Regions from separate parts of the Homo sapiens genome. Here regions 2, 3, 4 and 5 are each linked to region 1. The links are contacts of gene promoters, found by promoter capture Hi-C in blood cells and fetal thymus (Javierre and others, 2016). All regions are on one chromosome and are shown on one strand. Each heading gives the region's core, a stretch centred on a gene start or on the middle of the fragment in contact. The rest is flanking DNA. Distances are from core to core; before and after follow the strand shown. Region 1 holds the start of USP48 (ubiquitin specific peptidase 48). Region 2 holds the start of ECE1-AS1 (ECE1 antisense RNA 1). Region 3 overlaps CDC42 (cell division cycle 42). Region 4 overlaps CDC42 (cell division cycle 42). Region 5 has its middle 33 kb from the start of WNT4.

Evidence for each region. Contacts are between HindIII fragments. The CHiCAGO score rates a contact against its expected background, and 5 or more counts as called.
Region 2: a contact is called between the fragment with the promoter of ECE1-AS1 here and the fragment with the promoter of USP48 in region 1, in 9 of 17 cell types (total B cells, neutrophils, fetal thymus and 6 more). The highest score is 12.1, in total B cells.
Region 3: a contact is called between a fragment that was not itself captured here and the fragment with the promoter of USP48 in region 1, in 3 of 17 cell types (total CD4 T cells, naive CD4 T cells and monocytes). The highest score is 5.7, in total CD4 T cells.
Region 4: a contact is called between a fragment that was not itself captured here and the fragment with the promoter of USP48 in region 1, in 7 of 17 cell types (non-activated CD4 T cells, activated CD4 T cells, naive CD4 T cells and 4 more). The highest score is 7.2, in non-activated CD4 T cells.
Region 5: a fragment that was not itself captured here is called in contact with the fragment with the promoter of USP48 in region 1 in 4 of 17 cell types (naive CD8 T cells, non-activated CD4 T cells, activated CD4 T cells and 1 more); the score reaches 6.1 in naive CD8 T cells.

Annotation. Positions count from the first base shown.
Region 1 is chr1:21,781,876-21,784,575 of GRCh38, reverse strand. USP48 (ubiquitin specific peptidase 48) reads left to right here and starts at 1,427. Exons shown (of 27, transcript NM_032236.8): 1 at 1,427-1,752. The coding sequence starts at 1,619. RefSeq lists enhancers at 1,044-1,093, 839-1,609, 2,034-2,133, 1,610-2,381, 2,694-2,700 and a silencer at 1,304-1,663. The HindIII fragment of the contact is 2,827 bases long and covers 1-2,700 here.
Region 2 is chr1:21,292,020-21,294,719 of GRCh38, reverse strand. It overlaps ECE1-AS1 (ECE1 antisense RNA 1), which reads right to left and starts at 1,430. Exons shown (of 3, transcript NR_038404.1): 1 at 977-1,430; 2 at 510-786. It also overlaps a transcript of ECE1 not described here. RefSeq lists enhancers at 1-13, 1-552, 1,394-1,483. The HindIII fragment of the contact is 8,029 bases long and covers 1-1,596 here.
Region 3 is chr1:22,071,105-22,073,804 of GRCh38, reverse strand. All of the region lies in intron 1 of CDC42 (cell division cycle 42), which reads right to left. Among named protein-coding and RNA genes, the nearest start is that of CDC42, 20 kb to the right of the region's middle. The HindIII fragment of the contact is 6,953 bases long and covers 1-2,700 here.
Region 4 is chr1:22,091,998-22,094,697 of GRCh38, reverse strand. It overlaps CDC42 (cell division cycle 42), which reads right to left. Exons shown (of 6, transcript NM_001791.4): 6 at 1-2,700. Among named protein-coding and RNA genes, the nearest start is that of CDC42, 41 kb to the right of the region's middle. The HindIII fragment of the contact is 622 bases long and covers 1,017-1,638 here.
Region 5 is chr1:22,108,564-22,111,263 of GRCh38, reverse strand. No RefSeq gene overlaps it. Among named protein-coding and RNA genes, the nearest start is that of WNT4, 33 kb to the left of the region's middle. The HindIII fragment of the contact is 3,822 bases long and covers 1-2,700 here.

The DNA of each region.
Region 1 (2,700 bases), core at 178-2,677:
TATCCTGGATAAGTCCAACTCACCCGTTAAAAGCGGGCTTCGGAATTACTTCTGGGAAGCCTTTTCTCAAGTACCCCGAAGCCTCCCAAGACTGGGATGGGGATCTTTGTATTTCTACCGCTCACTCCCTAACCCACTTCCAAGGGCAGGGACCACATCTTACTTTCTTCTGCCTTCAGCGAATTTTTTTGTTTTTTTTGAGACGGAGTTTTACTCTTGTTGCCCAGGCTGGAGTGCAATGGCGTTATCTCGGCTAACCACAACCTCCGCCTCCCGGGTTCAAGCGATTCTCCTGCCTCTGCCTCCCGACTAGCTGGGATTACAGGCATGCGCGACCGCGCCTTGCTAATTTTGTATTTTTAGTAGAGACGGGGTTTCTCCATTTTGGTCAGGCTGGCCTCGAACTCCTGACCTCAGGTGATCCGCCCACCTCGGCCTCCCAAAGTGCTGGGATTGGATCCTTGAGCCACGGTGCTCGGCCCAGTGAATGTTTATCTAAAGAATTCAGCCTAAGGTTTTCCAGCAGGCAAGCAGCTGAGTCAGAAGTTAGCGCTTAGATTCTGGCAGAGCTCTAATTCAAATTCAAAATTCTTAAATATCCTCACTTTAGTAGAGTTCTTTACAGTTTGCAAAACAATTCTCATAAAGCTACTCTTTATGTCCTGGGGCAGGAGTCGCAGAAAGGAAATGTTTTAAACCAGGAGCTAGAGAGGAACTAGAAAATCCTGGCATAGAGGTAACAGTCTTGAGAAGGGAGCCAACAGCAAACATGACCTTGCGCACCAGAGAAACTCCACCCTGGCACCTCGGACCCCCGCCCGCACAGTCTGCGGCGCACTGAGCACTCCCACCTCGAAGACTACAAATCCCAGCATGCCTCACAGTCAGTGGCAGGACGCAGGGCATGCCGGGACACGTAGTCCCACCCTAGCACGGGAAAAGGCCGGAAGGTCCCATGACGTCAGGAGGGCTCGGGAAAGGGGTTCGGAACCGGTCTAGGCTCAAGTTAAATCTCCCTCTAAAGAGCCAACACTGGTTTCTTTGGCGACTCGGTTTCTACTCTAAACAGGTCCCGCTCCACAGTCTGGGCGGGCCTGTGTGTGCGTTGAGTAGCCTCTAGCGTGAAAACTTCATGGTTAAAAGGGAAGTACCGGAGGCAAGAAATAGCTTTCGAGGCACTGGTTTGTTAGAGTAGTGGTACGTAGTGCGCCGCCCTGAACGGGGGCTGAGACGCTGCTTTTCCAGAAGTGCCAGTGAGGACGTGGCAAGACCGCCTCGGACGTACGCTTCCTCTACCTCAGCCCGTCGGGTTAGGGGCGCGGGAGGCGCAGAGGCTGCTGGGAACGCGCATGCGCTCAGCGCGGCGGGGAGTCCACCTTTAACGTCCGCGGGCGCGGGGTGTGTCGGGTGTCGACGGCGGCGCTTTGCGGCCGGTCGTGCGGGTCGGGCGCGGGCGGGCGCGGCGGCAGTGGCGCGCACAGGTGATTGACTGGCCAGCTGCCTGAAGGAGCGCCAGGTCCTCCTTGCTGGCAGGTGGCGAAGCCCATTGGGGCGGCGGTGCAGACCGCGGCGGCGGCTGCGGCGGTCTGGCTCGGGAGGCGTTCCTGGGGCCAAGGCCATGGCCCCGCGGCTGCAGCTGGAGAAGGCGGCCTGGCGCTGGGCGGAGACGGTGCGGCCCGAGGAGGTGTCGCAGGAGCACATCGAGACCGCTTACCGCATCTGGCTGGAGCCCTGCATTCGCGGCGTGTGCAGGTGAGGCCCGCGCACCGCGCCTCGCGGGCTCCTCGCGCCGGACCTTGGAAAGCCCGGGCGGGGTAGGGGAAAGGAAGACGGCAGCCCTTTGCGTGCATTTGGGAGGCGCGGAGCCGAGCGAGGTGGAGTTTCCCCCTTTGCGCCGTCTGCGCGACCTGGGAAACGCAGGCTTCCCGGGCTGTGCGCGGAGGTGATGCTGGCCAAAGCACTTTAGGAAGGTTTGGGTTCCCATCCAGAAGATGGCGGTGGAGATGAAGGCAGGAGCTGAGAGCTTAGCAAGCGTTGATGGTTGGGGTATCTTGGCCACAGCACGGCTCTTTCGTTTGTAAAAAGGAACTTTTTGGAAGTGAGCTTCATCACAGTGTATCTTGTTGGTGTTGACACCGAAGGCCTGATCATCTTAGTATTATTTTTGTAGAGGGCAGCTTTAGAAAAAACTGTGGTCAGCCTACGTCATCGATACCCTGCACCCCCGTTGGCCTTCCCTCACTCGTTAATCTAGTATTTTTTTTAAGCCTTTCTTTGGTCGTTCTGGTTCGACACCAGTTTACCGAGTACCAAGTTTAAGCTGTGATAGTGCTGTCCTTCACGTCTGCGCCGCCCTTGAACTTTACCTTTCCTTAACCCCCTCATATAGATTGAATCCTTAGGCTTTGCTCCCGTTTATTCCCTTTTTTCCACCTTGTAACGCGGGAACTATAGTTTTTGTTTCAGAATGTTGTTGAAATTGACTTGGCCAAGCCGGGCATGCTCAGTAGCCGTCTTTCGGCAGGCATTTAGGAAATGCTTTCTGGAGTTTTTACATTCCGCTGGGGGATCCGGAAGGAATGGAAGTCATGGTCTCTGGCTTTGGAGCTTAAAGTCTAGTATGAGAAGTGAAATAAGTTAGGGAGTTTCTATAAAGCAAACGAATAAGTCCAAGCTCTGGGCGTCTGTCTCACAAGGAGG
Region 2 (2,700 bases), core at 181-2,680, 490 kb after region 1:
AGTGACTAATGTCGTCTGGGCAAAGGGGGTCATGCCCAGGTGCTACCAGGCCAGGAGGCTTTTGTCGCCAGAAACCTGTGCGTGTTTATATTTCTCGTTTCTGCTCACCACAGGCCTTTGATTTACAAGGGTGGAGTTTCCAGAGCTGGGCACTGTTGCACCTTCATCTGGCTGTCATCACTTCCTCTGTGCAGCTGGGGCACCGGGGACTGAGGACGGGGCAGTCCACAGGGAGCTGTGGTTCCACCCCTTCACTCTTGGTTTCTGCCAGGCCCTCCTCTTGAACACTAGACCCAGATTCAACCCAGATTTCTCCTCCACGGCTGCACAGTGCCAGGAAGGGAACTGAGAAGACCAAAGTGGAGGTTCTTTACCTTCCCCAACACACTCGGGGCCAGGCGTGGCACCCACAACTGCAAATGAGACAATTAGGGAGAATAAGTGCTGGCTGCCCTGTCAGCCCAGAGCCTCAGTCTGCCCAGGGCACCCAGACTCTGTGAGGTTCCCACCTGAAGAAGCAGTTCCATCTTCCACAAGGAGCACAGGACCAAGAGTCCAGGACCCAGGTTCGAGGCCCAGCTCTACCACTTTCTCGCCGCGGGGCTCGGGTTCTCTGGAGGCAGCGTAATGGAGTCAGTGGGTTTGGCAAGGGGAAGATTCGCATTATGGCTCCCTCAGTCTCCAGGCAGGTGACTCAGGGCTGGGGGGAGGTCCTTTCTCCTCTCTGACCCTTGGTCATCTCATTTGTAAAGCGGAGGTGATGATTCTCATCTCAGGGACGAGGCACTGTGGGGTTAGGAGAGAATTTGTCAAGTGGCATGGTTGGTTTTTGGTCTGTCTAGGCCCCTCCCCCTCTCTGTAAGCTGGAAGCGGTACTTGTGAGGCTGAGGCTCTAGGTGGGTGTGGGGAGCCATTGGGGTAGTGAATGGAAGGCCCTGGGCGAAGGGCCCCAGGCAGCTGTTGAAATGTCACTCACCCACTGTGGACTTCCCACCAAGCAGAGCCCGCCAAGCCTTTCCCGTCTGAGGTGGGTTCAGTTTCACTACCGGGCTGAGGCAGGCATCTCAGGAAGGGGCCCTCGGCTTTTGTGTGCTGAAAAATAACCAGGCTCCATCTCTGCTGATTTCTGCTTGGGAGTTCCGTGAGCTTCCTGCATCATCTGTCCACAGACAGGCTGCCGCAGGGTGGACATCAGAGTCCCTGGGGTGGCTTCCGGCCTCCCTCCCTTGCCTCCCGCCTTTGCTCAAACATCTGTAGAGGCTCCAGCCCCAGACTAAGCCCTTAAGGAGACAGGGTCCCGTGAGACCCAGCCTCTGCCATCAGGGTTCTCCTGTCTAAAATGCTGTGTGCCTCAGTAAAAGGCAGCATGGGGTAGGGTGGCTGTGTGGGGACACAGAGCCAGGGACCAAATGCTGTCTGGGGTCCCTGGAGGGTGGTCAGGAGAGCTTGCCAGAAGGGGGAAATCTCTGAAATGAGACAGAAGGAGGAGGAGCCATCGCTTAACCACACCTGGGCGAGTTAACTTCCCCAAGCCTCAGTTTCATTCTCTGTAAAAGGAACCAGTGATACCTGCTTCTGAGGGAAGGGTGAGAAGCTTAAAAGAGATGGTATAAAAGAACTGACAAATCCCGTACACCAGCCGGGTGAATCCCTTACACCACCCACATGCCCCGGGGAGATGTTCTGTGAACTGAACTTCTTTTTCAAAAGTCTTTTCCTCTGGCAATCGACACCTGGTAACGTAGTGTAACCAAGTGTCCTGTTCTAGAAAAAGCCCAGCTGCAACCCAGCAGTAAGTGAAGCAGCCTCAGAGTCCCCTCTCTCTCTGGGATGGGTAATGGAAACTCCTCCACCCAGTGGGAGTGAGGCAGAAGTCTCCAGAATTCAGAGCTTTCCCATGCACCCTGCCTCCCCAGGGCCTGTGACCTTTAGATGTGTTCCCTGTTTCTGTAGGCATTATGAAGTTAGATGCAGGAGAGTTCTTGAGAACTTGAAGGCACTTCCCCTCTACTTGTCCCCCCTTTGATTTTAACAACCGTTTGTTGAGCACCTACTCTGTGCCGGGTGATGGAGAGTCTCTGTTGGACAGGCCAGACAAGGTCCCAGCCCCAGTAAAGCTGTGGATTCTGGAGAGGGACAGAGACAGTGATGATAAAGACATGGAAACAAAACAGTCTGCAACAAGTACTGTAAAGGAAAACAAACAGGATGCTGTAACAGAGAATTTGGGGGACTGCTTAGGGTTCCTGGGACATTTGAGGAGCTGGTAGGCTGAGATCTGAAGTTGGAGCTGACCATGGGAAGAGTAGAGAGGAGGAAAAAATGTTCCAGATAGAGACAACAGCAGCTACAAAGGTCTTGGGGGAAGAAGAAACTTGTAGAAACTGAGGAGTTGTGTGAGGAGGTTGGTGGGGGAGGGGGCGCTGGCAGCACAAGATGAGGGCCCAGAGTGGGCAGGGGCCATGGGGCCTGGTGAAGGGTTTGGATTTCATTCCAGGACAGTGGAGGGTTTTTAAGCAAGGGAGTGGTAATATCAGAATTTTTTTTTATTTTATTTATTTACTCAGACAAGATCTTGTTGTGTCGTCCACGCTGGAGTGCAGTGGTGCAATCACAGCTCACTGTAGCCGCCACCTCCTGGCTTCAAGCGATTCTCCCACCTAAGCCTCCCAAGTAGCTGGGACTACAGGCGCATACCAC
Region 3 (2,700 bases), core at 30-2,529, 290 kb before region 1:
GCACACACCTGTAGTCCCAGTTACCAGGGAGGCTGAGGTGGGAGGATTGCTTGAGTCCAAGGCTGCAGTTGGCTATGATTGTGCCACTGCCCTCCAGGCTGGATGACAGAGCAAGACCCTGTCTCAAATATTTTTTTTAAAATGATTCTGCCAATCATAAGGAAATAAAATTGTGAAATAAGGTATATCTTCCTTCTGTCCTTCCTGGCATCTACCCCTCCAATACCCATATCTTCTAGGTTTTTTATTTTTCTTTTTTTTTTTTTGAGACAGAGTTTTGCTCTGTCACCCAGGCTGGAGTGCAATGGCGTGATCTCGGCTCACTGCAACCTCCGCCTCCAGGGTTCAAGCGATTCTCCCACCTCAGCCTCCCAAGTAGCTGGGATTACAGGCACGCACCACCATGTCTGGCTAATTTTTGTATTTTTTTAGTAGAGACGGGGTTTCGCCACATTGGCCAGGCTGGTCTCAAAATCCTGACCTCAGGTGATCCACCCACCTCAGCCTCCCAAAGTGCTGGGATTACAGGCACGAGCCATTGCACCTGGCCTCTTCCAGGTTCTTAACACTATGGGAATTCAAATATCCTTTAAGAATCTCAGAGCTATAGCACCTGAAATTTTAAGTCCACACACTACAGATTTTAAAAGGTTATGGAACCCTCTCTATGGTATCATTATGATTGGCTGGCTGCCATCTAAACTCCACCAGACAATCCCTGAGCAAACGATCTGTATGGAGGAAGGGGATACTCCCAGCTACAAATGCCCTATTTTCCCGTGCCCCATGGTTCATTCTAGGCACAGAGAGACAGCAACCTTAAGATTTGAGATTAAATATTTGCTAGTAAGTTTTACAAAAAATTTATATTCTCAATAAGATTACACCTCTTTTAAAACTATGTCAAGTATTAATAGTAACTGTGAATAAAAGGCAAGTCAAATTTTTGGTAATACACCAAATATTTGGCAATATTTGGTTTCCGTCCCCACTTCCTAGCAGAGAGCTCCTAAAAACCCTAGGAATTTCCTGAGTGCTGAGTGTCTCTTGTTTTTCATAACAAATTCACACCTGAATTTATGTTAATAAAGTGACAGGGTGGCGGTGGAAGGGATGCTAGGAAGCCTCAGGATGGGGCTGGTCACCAGAAAGGCAAAGTGACTAGAGGGATGTAACTTTCAGCCCCATGCACCAACCTCCAGAGAGGGGAGGAGGGCTAGAAACTGAGCTCTATGAAAACTCCAGAACAGAAGATTTGGAGAGCTTCCAGGTCTGTGAACATTTCAAGGTGAGGGGAAAGCAGGTCACCTGAATCCCTCCCCACCCACAACCGTGCCCTATGTATCTCTTCCATTTGGCTGTTCGTGAGTTGTACCCTTTATGACAAAGGCATAAAGGTAAGTAAAACGGCCAGGCACGGTGGTTCAAGCCTGTAATCCCAGCACTTTGGGAGGCCGAGGCGGGCAGATCATGAGGTCAGGAGATCGAGACCATTCTGGCTAACATGGCGAAACCCCGACTCTACTAAAAATACAAAAAATTAGCCAGGCGTGGTGGCAGGCGCCTGTAGTTCCAGCTACTCGGGAGGCTGAGGCAGGAGAATGGCATGAACCTGGGAGGCAGAGCTTGCAGTGAGCTGAGATCACGCCACTGTACTCCAGCCTGGGCAACAGAGCGAGACTCCATCCCAAAAAAAAAAAAAAAAAAAAAAAAGGTAAGTAAAACGTTTTCCTGAGTTCTATGAGTTGTTCTAGCTAATAATCAAACCTAAGAAGGGCCATGGGAATCCCAAAATTTGTAGTCTACTGGGCAGAGGTATAGGTAGCCTAGGCACTGCATTTGTAGCTGCTGCCTAAAGTGAGGGCAGTCTTCCAAGACTGAGCCCTTAAGCTGTGGGGTGGGAGTATCAGAATTAAACTGTTAGTATCAGAACTGAATTTTCTTTTTCTGACACCACATTCACTCTAATCCAAAACACACTAAAAGTAAAGTTGCCTTCATGTGAAATACGTTTGCCCCTGAAGTAACCCATTTTCATACTTAGGATACAAGAAAGAAGAGGCACTACAGGAATCAAGAGAATGACCCAATTTCACAATCTTCCTTATCAGTTCAACAGAAGGACTAGTCTGGTTGTAGGATTAAACAGAATAAAATCAAAACTACTTGTCTCTCCTGTCAAATCCAGCCACTTTGGAAAATGCAGCTTATATAACCTTCTGCTGTAAGTTATAGTAGCATATCTAACGTACAATTTTTTAAACACCTACCCATGCATGTGATTTTTAGGCAACCAAAAGTACTCAAACCACAGCAATGTATTCCATGCATTCACACACGTATGCAAGTGTGCTAACAAACTGTCTTGTTTGCAGAACTTCTTGTTTGCTTCTATATCACAGAAGACATGTAACAAAAAGCATACAGCTGGCCTTATATGTTTGTTAGAAATGCTTGTTCCGACCGGGTGCGGTGGCTCACACCTGTAATCCCAGCACTTTGGGAGGCCGAGGCGGATGGATCACGAGGTCAGGAGATCGAGACCATCCTGGCTAACATGGTGAAACCCCGACGCTACTAAAAATACAAAAAAATTAGCCGGGCGTGGTGGCAGGCGCCTGTAGTCCCAGCTACTCGGGAGGCTGAGGCAGGAGAATGGCGTGAACCCGTGAGGCAGAGCTTGCAGTGAGCCGAGACCGC
Region 4 (2,700 bases), core at 78-2,577, 310 kb before region 1:
TCTTTTAAACCACAATCCTTTTCTTCCCCTTTAGAATACACTCCCCTTGTGGCATAAAGTCCAGCTTGAAGAACATCGCTTTAACTATAAAATCTATTTCTGGCCGGGCGCGGTGGCTCACGCCTGTAATCCCAGCACTTTGGGAGGCCGAGGCGGGCGGATCACGAGGTCAGGAGATCGAGACCATTCTGGCTAACACGGTGAAACCCCGTCTCTACTAAAAATACAAAAAATTAGCCGGGCGTGGTAGCGGGCGCCGGTAGTCCCAGCTACTCGGGAGGCTGAGGCAGGAGAATGGCGTGAACCCGGGAGGCGGAGCTTGCAGTGAGCCGAGATCGCGCCACTGCACTCCAGCCTGGGCGACAGAGCGAGACTCCGTCTCAAAAAAAAAAAAAAAAAAAAATCTATTTCTAGGATGTTCAGTAAAACACTTATAAATAGCAATAATATATTAACATCGTATTAAATACTATAAATTCTGACACAAACTAAGCCTGTAAGGACTATTTTCAATAACCCTTTCCAGCCTCTAAATCATACTCCCTGGAGAATATCACTCACCTTCTAAGCCACGACTATAAGCAAGTTTGTTACGTCAAATAGAAAACAATATTTAAATGGAAAACCTAAGCTGCATCCACTTGCTACCCAAGTTCTTCTGACATGCAGAAATCAATCTGAAAATATTTAAGAAAACATTAGCTTCAATCAATCCCCATCATCCTTGTTCTTCTGATACACGGATAATTCGTTGACACAACTGTATGACCTGCTTTATTTCACTTACTCATTTATAAAATAATATACCCATCCAATGACTACTTCTAGAGCCATATCATGTCAAGCATTGCTTTAGGACAAAGATATAGCAATAGTCAAGGACCTATACGCCCCTGACTACACTAAGGATACATATGTCCCTGCTTTCCAGGGTATCACATGATCCAGGTATCTCTCCCTAGTATAGTCAACAAGGAATAAATAAGATGCATTTCTTGGTTAGAACTGTTAAAGCTTACATCTGCCTCTTCCTAACCCCTTCTCAACCAACCCAGCTTAATTCTAGCACAGTATGCAAATCATGCCAAACATGACTCCATGCAGAGAACTATCAAAATGAGGCCACAGTGTACCAACCTTAACTGATTTTAAGGGTTCTTAGTTTCTAAGATTCTCATGCAGATCAGTATAATGTCCTAAAGGTAAATAAACCTTTCTTGCTACCTAAAGAAAATGTATCCCATATTCAGATTCGCAGCACAGAACCTGTATTCTGATAGTAGTAGTTTGAGATAACCAACTAGGTGTGGTGATTCCCAAACTTGGCTACATTTTAGAAATGCCTGGAAAACTTAAAAATCACATTGTTCAAGCTGCACTCCAGTTGGAGAACCACTGATGCAGAAAACTTGGGGGAAAATGAGCTGCTTTTCAATGATCTATGGATTAAAGGTACACTGACATTTCCTTCCACCATGAGCAGTGAGCTTCCTGAACACTGCTTCACTAAGAATTATTATGGACCTACTTGGTATTTAAGGGAAGGGTCAAACTTAGAGGAGAAAGCACAAACCTGAACATATAGAGGGCTAAATATTATCTCAAACTAAAATGCCAGAAAATAAAAATAATAAAGCTTTAAAATTTTATCCCAAAGTTTGTTAGAAATTGATGTTATCAAGAGTCAAATTCCCACTCCTCAATATCTGAAAAGTAAGAGACGGAGGGAAAATAACAACCCTCAGGCTGGCTTGTGAAGGGTTTTTGTTTGTTTAATACATCTGAAAAGAATGCATATACAAAGAATTGAGACATGAGAAAGCATTGGTTCAACACTAATGCATCTACAAGAATTAGGTTTGGGAAGGTGGGAAAGATTACCTCAACATTTTTAAAAATTGGAAACTGCAACCAAAATAAGCTGAAAAAATCCCTATTAACACTTAAGAAGAGTCTGCATTAAGAGTCTTTCCATGATTTTTATTAAACTAGAGAGCCTCACCTGGCTGCTCTAGGGTTCCTCATATGCAAAACAGAAATAAGGGGATTCCCCTGACTGGTCCCCATGTTGTTAAGTGTTCTCCCCACCCCCACCCTACCCCCAGCTTCTTAATGAAGCAGGCCTCCATCCTCCTAACTTGAGAGGATGTGAATCATTCCACAGATGTCTGTCTTCTAGCACCACCCCTCGTATTTCCTCTACATAACAGGTCTTCAGCTGCATTCTAGGAACACCATATACTACTGAGCTGCAAATCTATGCTAAGCATATAAGACAATGACTGAAAGGGAAAAAAATTTTTTTAATTACAAACTCAATTCATTTGGTGCATTTCAAAGGTGCAATACTTTTCTTCATTTATCAGTGAAAGAAGTTAGAAATTAACTTCCCAAAAAAATCAGCAAATGGCAAACAAATGTCCTTGAAAGTCACAGTCACATATAGTGCGTCCTAGAAAAGAGGAGGGGCAAGATGGGCTCCACCCACTTTCATGAGTTTCATCAAATACTGGATCTACTCAAGGGTGGAGAGAAAAGGCAACTTTCAAAAAGGAGTATGTTATTAAATGAGGCATTTACTATACTCCTTCCTAAGAGCACCAGATGGGGAACATGTTTTCTAAACTAGATCTAGGAAGTGGAATGTGGAATCAATCCGTCCTCCTCCCCTTAAGGGCTAACCACTGGTTAATGAATTAA
Region 5 (2,700 bases), core at 70-2,569, 330 kb before region 1:
TCCACTGTGCCCTCAAGGGTCACAGCTCTGTACAGCTCACCCAGTGAAGCAGCCACTTGCTGGCAAGCAAGAGATTCTCAACCTTTAACCTATGTCCCCTGCCTTTGAGAGACAAACCCCTGCCTTGTTAAATCTGTCATTTCTTTTTGTTTTTTTTTTTTGAGACGGAGTCTCACTCTGTTACCCAGGCTGGAGTGCAGTGGCCCGATCTCGGCTCACTGCAAGCTCCGCCTCCCAGGTTCACGCCATTCTCCTGCCTCAGCCTCCCGAGTAGCTGGGACTACAGGCACCTGCCACCACACCCGGCTAATTTTTTTGTGTGTTTTTAGTAGAGACAGGGTTTCACCATGCTAGCCAGGATGGTCTTGATCTCCTGACTTTGTGATCCGCCCACCTCGGCCTCCCAAAGTGCTGGGACTACAGGCGTGAGCCACCACGCCCGGCCTAATCTGTCATTTCAAAATAAATCTTGTGACTAAAAACAAATCAACACAATAGTGATTTTAAAATAAGCATTTCCTTTTTGTTGTTTTTTTTCTATTATTCTCATCTGATAAAATAAGCATTTCAAATTCTACACATCATTTGTCTACCAGCTATTCTATTACTGCCCCCAAGGGGAGCTGGTAGTACAAGTTCTGGAGTCAAAAGTTCAAGGCTGGCTGGCTTGTTCAAGTTCAAGGCACGGTGGCTCATGCCTGTAGTCCCAGCACTTTGGGAGGCCGAGGCAGGAGGATCACGAGCTCTGGAGTTTGAGACCAACCTGGCCAACATGGTGAAACCCCGTCTCTACTAAAAATACAAAAAAATTAGCCAGGCATGGTGGCACAGGCCTATAATCCCAGCTACTCAGGAGGCTGAGGCAGGAGAATCGCTTGAACTGGAGAAACAGAGGTTGCAGTGAGCTGAGACCACAACAATGCACTCCAGCCTAGGCAACAGGGCGAGACTCCGTCTCAAAAAAAAAAAAAAAAAAAGTTCAAGGCTACAGTGAGCTATGATTGCACCACTACACTTCAGCCTGGGTGACAGAGTGAGAATCTGTCTTTATAATTTTTTTTTTTTAATTTTACTGTAGAGACAGTGTTTCACCATGTTGCCAGGATGGCCTAACAGGTGTTAGCCATCATGCCCAGCCACACCTTACCACTTTTCTATAGAAATAAATACTGAACACCACTTTTCTTTTAACTGCCAGTTGACTAATTTCAGCTTAAGTAAACTAATAATTTAGTTATTGACATGTAAGGGACTTAATGTCAACTCTATTCTAGACATTTTTACATTTTCTGTAAGGCAGTTAGCCACAACAGCCCACCAATAGCACCAGCTGGATCTCAGTTACAAGAAAAAACAGCTCAGAACATTCTCAAAAATAATTTTTTTTTAAGTTGTGGAGTCAAATAACCCCAGCTCTACCATGGACTGGCTGTGAACCTTGGGCAAGTCATTAACTTGTTTCCTCAGTTATAAACTGGGAATGAAAAGAGTAGCCGTCTCACAGAGCTATCATGAAGATACAGCATGTAAAACCCTTAGCACATGGCTGGTCACACAGCCAGGGCTCAGTCATTAGCTATTACGGCTTTTAACATCAGAGAATGTTCCTGCCCCCACTTCCAATCCTGAGAATGCTGAGCCAGTAGATGTTTAAGAGTAGGCTCCCCAAGACTTCAGTTGGGCAGAGGACACACTTTAAAGAAAAAAGGGACTGATGCTCCTTTGACAGACCTGTGCTTCCCAAGGTACAAGCCACATGGTGTCATACATACTACTGCTTACACATGCATACCCCCCCACTAAACTGTGAGCACTCTCTGGGTGGGATCTGGAACTTCTATTTCATATCGAGGGTGGGAAGGATGCACTGAAGATCAAATGAACTGAGACATCCATGTTAGGGGAGAAAACATAACCATCTACTGACCATCAGAGAGGTGCAAGATAGACCGACTCACTGATGAACGGCCACACAAGAGTGGGCTCCAGCCCTTTTCCAAAATGCTACAGGTCTATGACTGTTACTCTGGACTCTTCCTTCTCCAGAATAAAGAAGTCAAGGGAACAATTAAACTATCTCTACCCATTACTATCCCTGGACTTCAAGGCCCCTTAGTGCCCCTTTCAGGGCCCCAGAGAAGAGCCTCAGCCTGGGTCCACAACCCATGGTCCCTGTGCAAGGCCTCCCTGGAGGGCCAGCCCACACGGCTTTGTTATAGATGACGGCCTGGACAGCTATCTCACCCACTGTCTTCTAGTCTCCTCATCTCCAAGTTCCTGAAGCCCCGGCCAAAGACAACAGTGTGGACTTGTTTTTTTGGGGCCCAAAGTAGAAGGCTTCTCAGCACCTGGGAGCAGCTGGAAGTTGGAACTCAGGACTCATCGCTGCTGGTCTCCCCATCCTGTGCCAAGTGCATCTGTAAACAAGCCTTCTCAGTGGTTCCCTGCAGCTGCTCCCCAAACGGGTCAAAAGGAAGAGAAACAGGCTAGAATTAGGGCAGCCCATGGCTTGCAAGTGAGAACTGAGCCAGGCAGGGCCTGGTCTGAAAGGTGGTCCCTGGATACAGCCAGGCCTGCACTGCTGGCCCTGTGCCCAAAGCCTTAGATGGGTTCAACATTGCCCATGACTGCTGCCCTATGCCAAGGTGTTGAGACCCCAAGAGCCATGGGGCCTGTGTCACACTGCTGTAGGTCCCACTG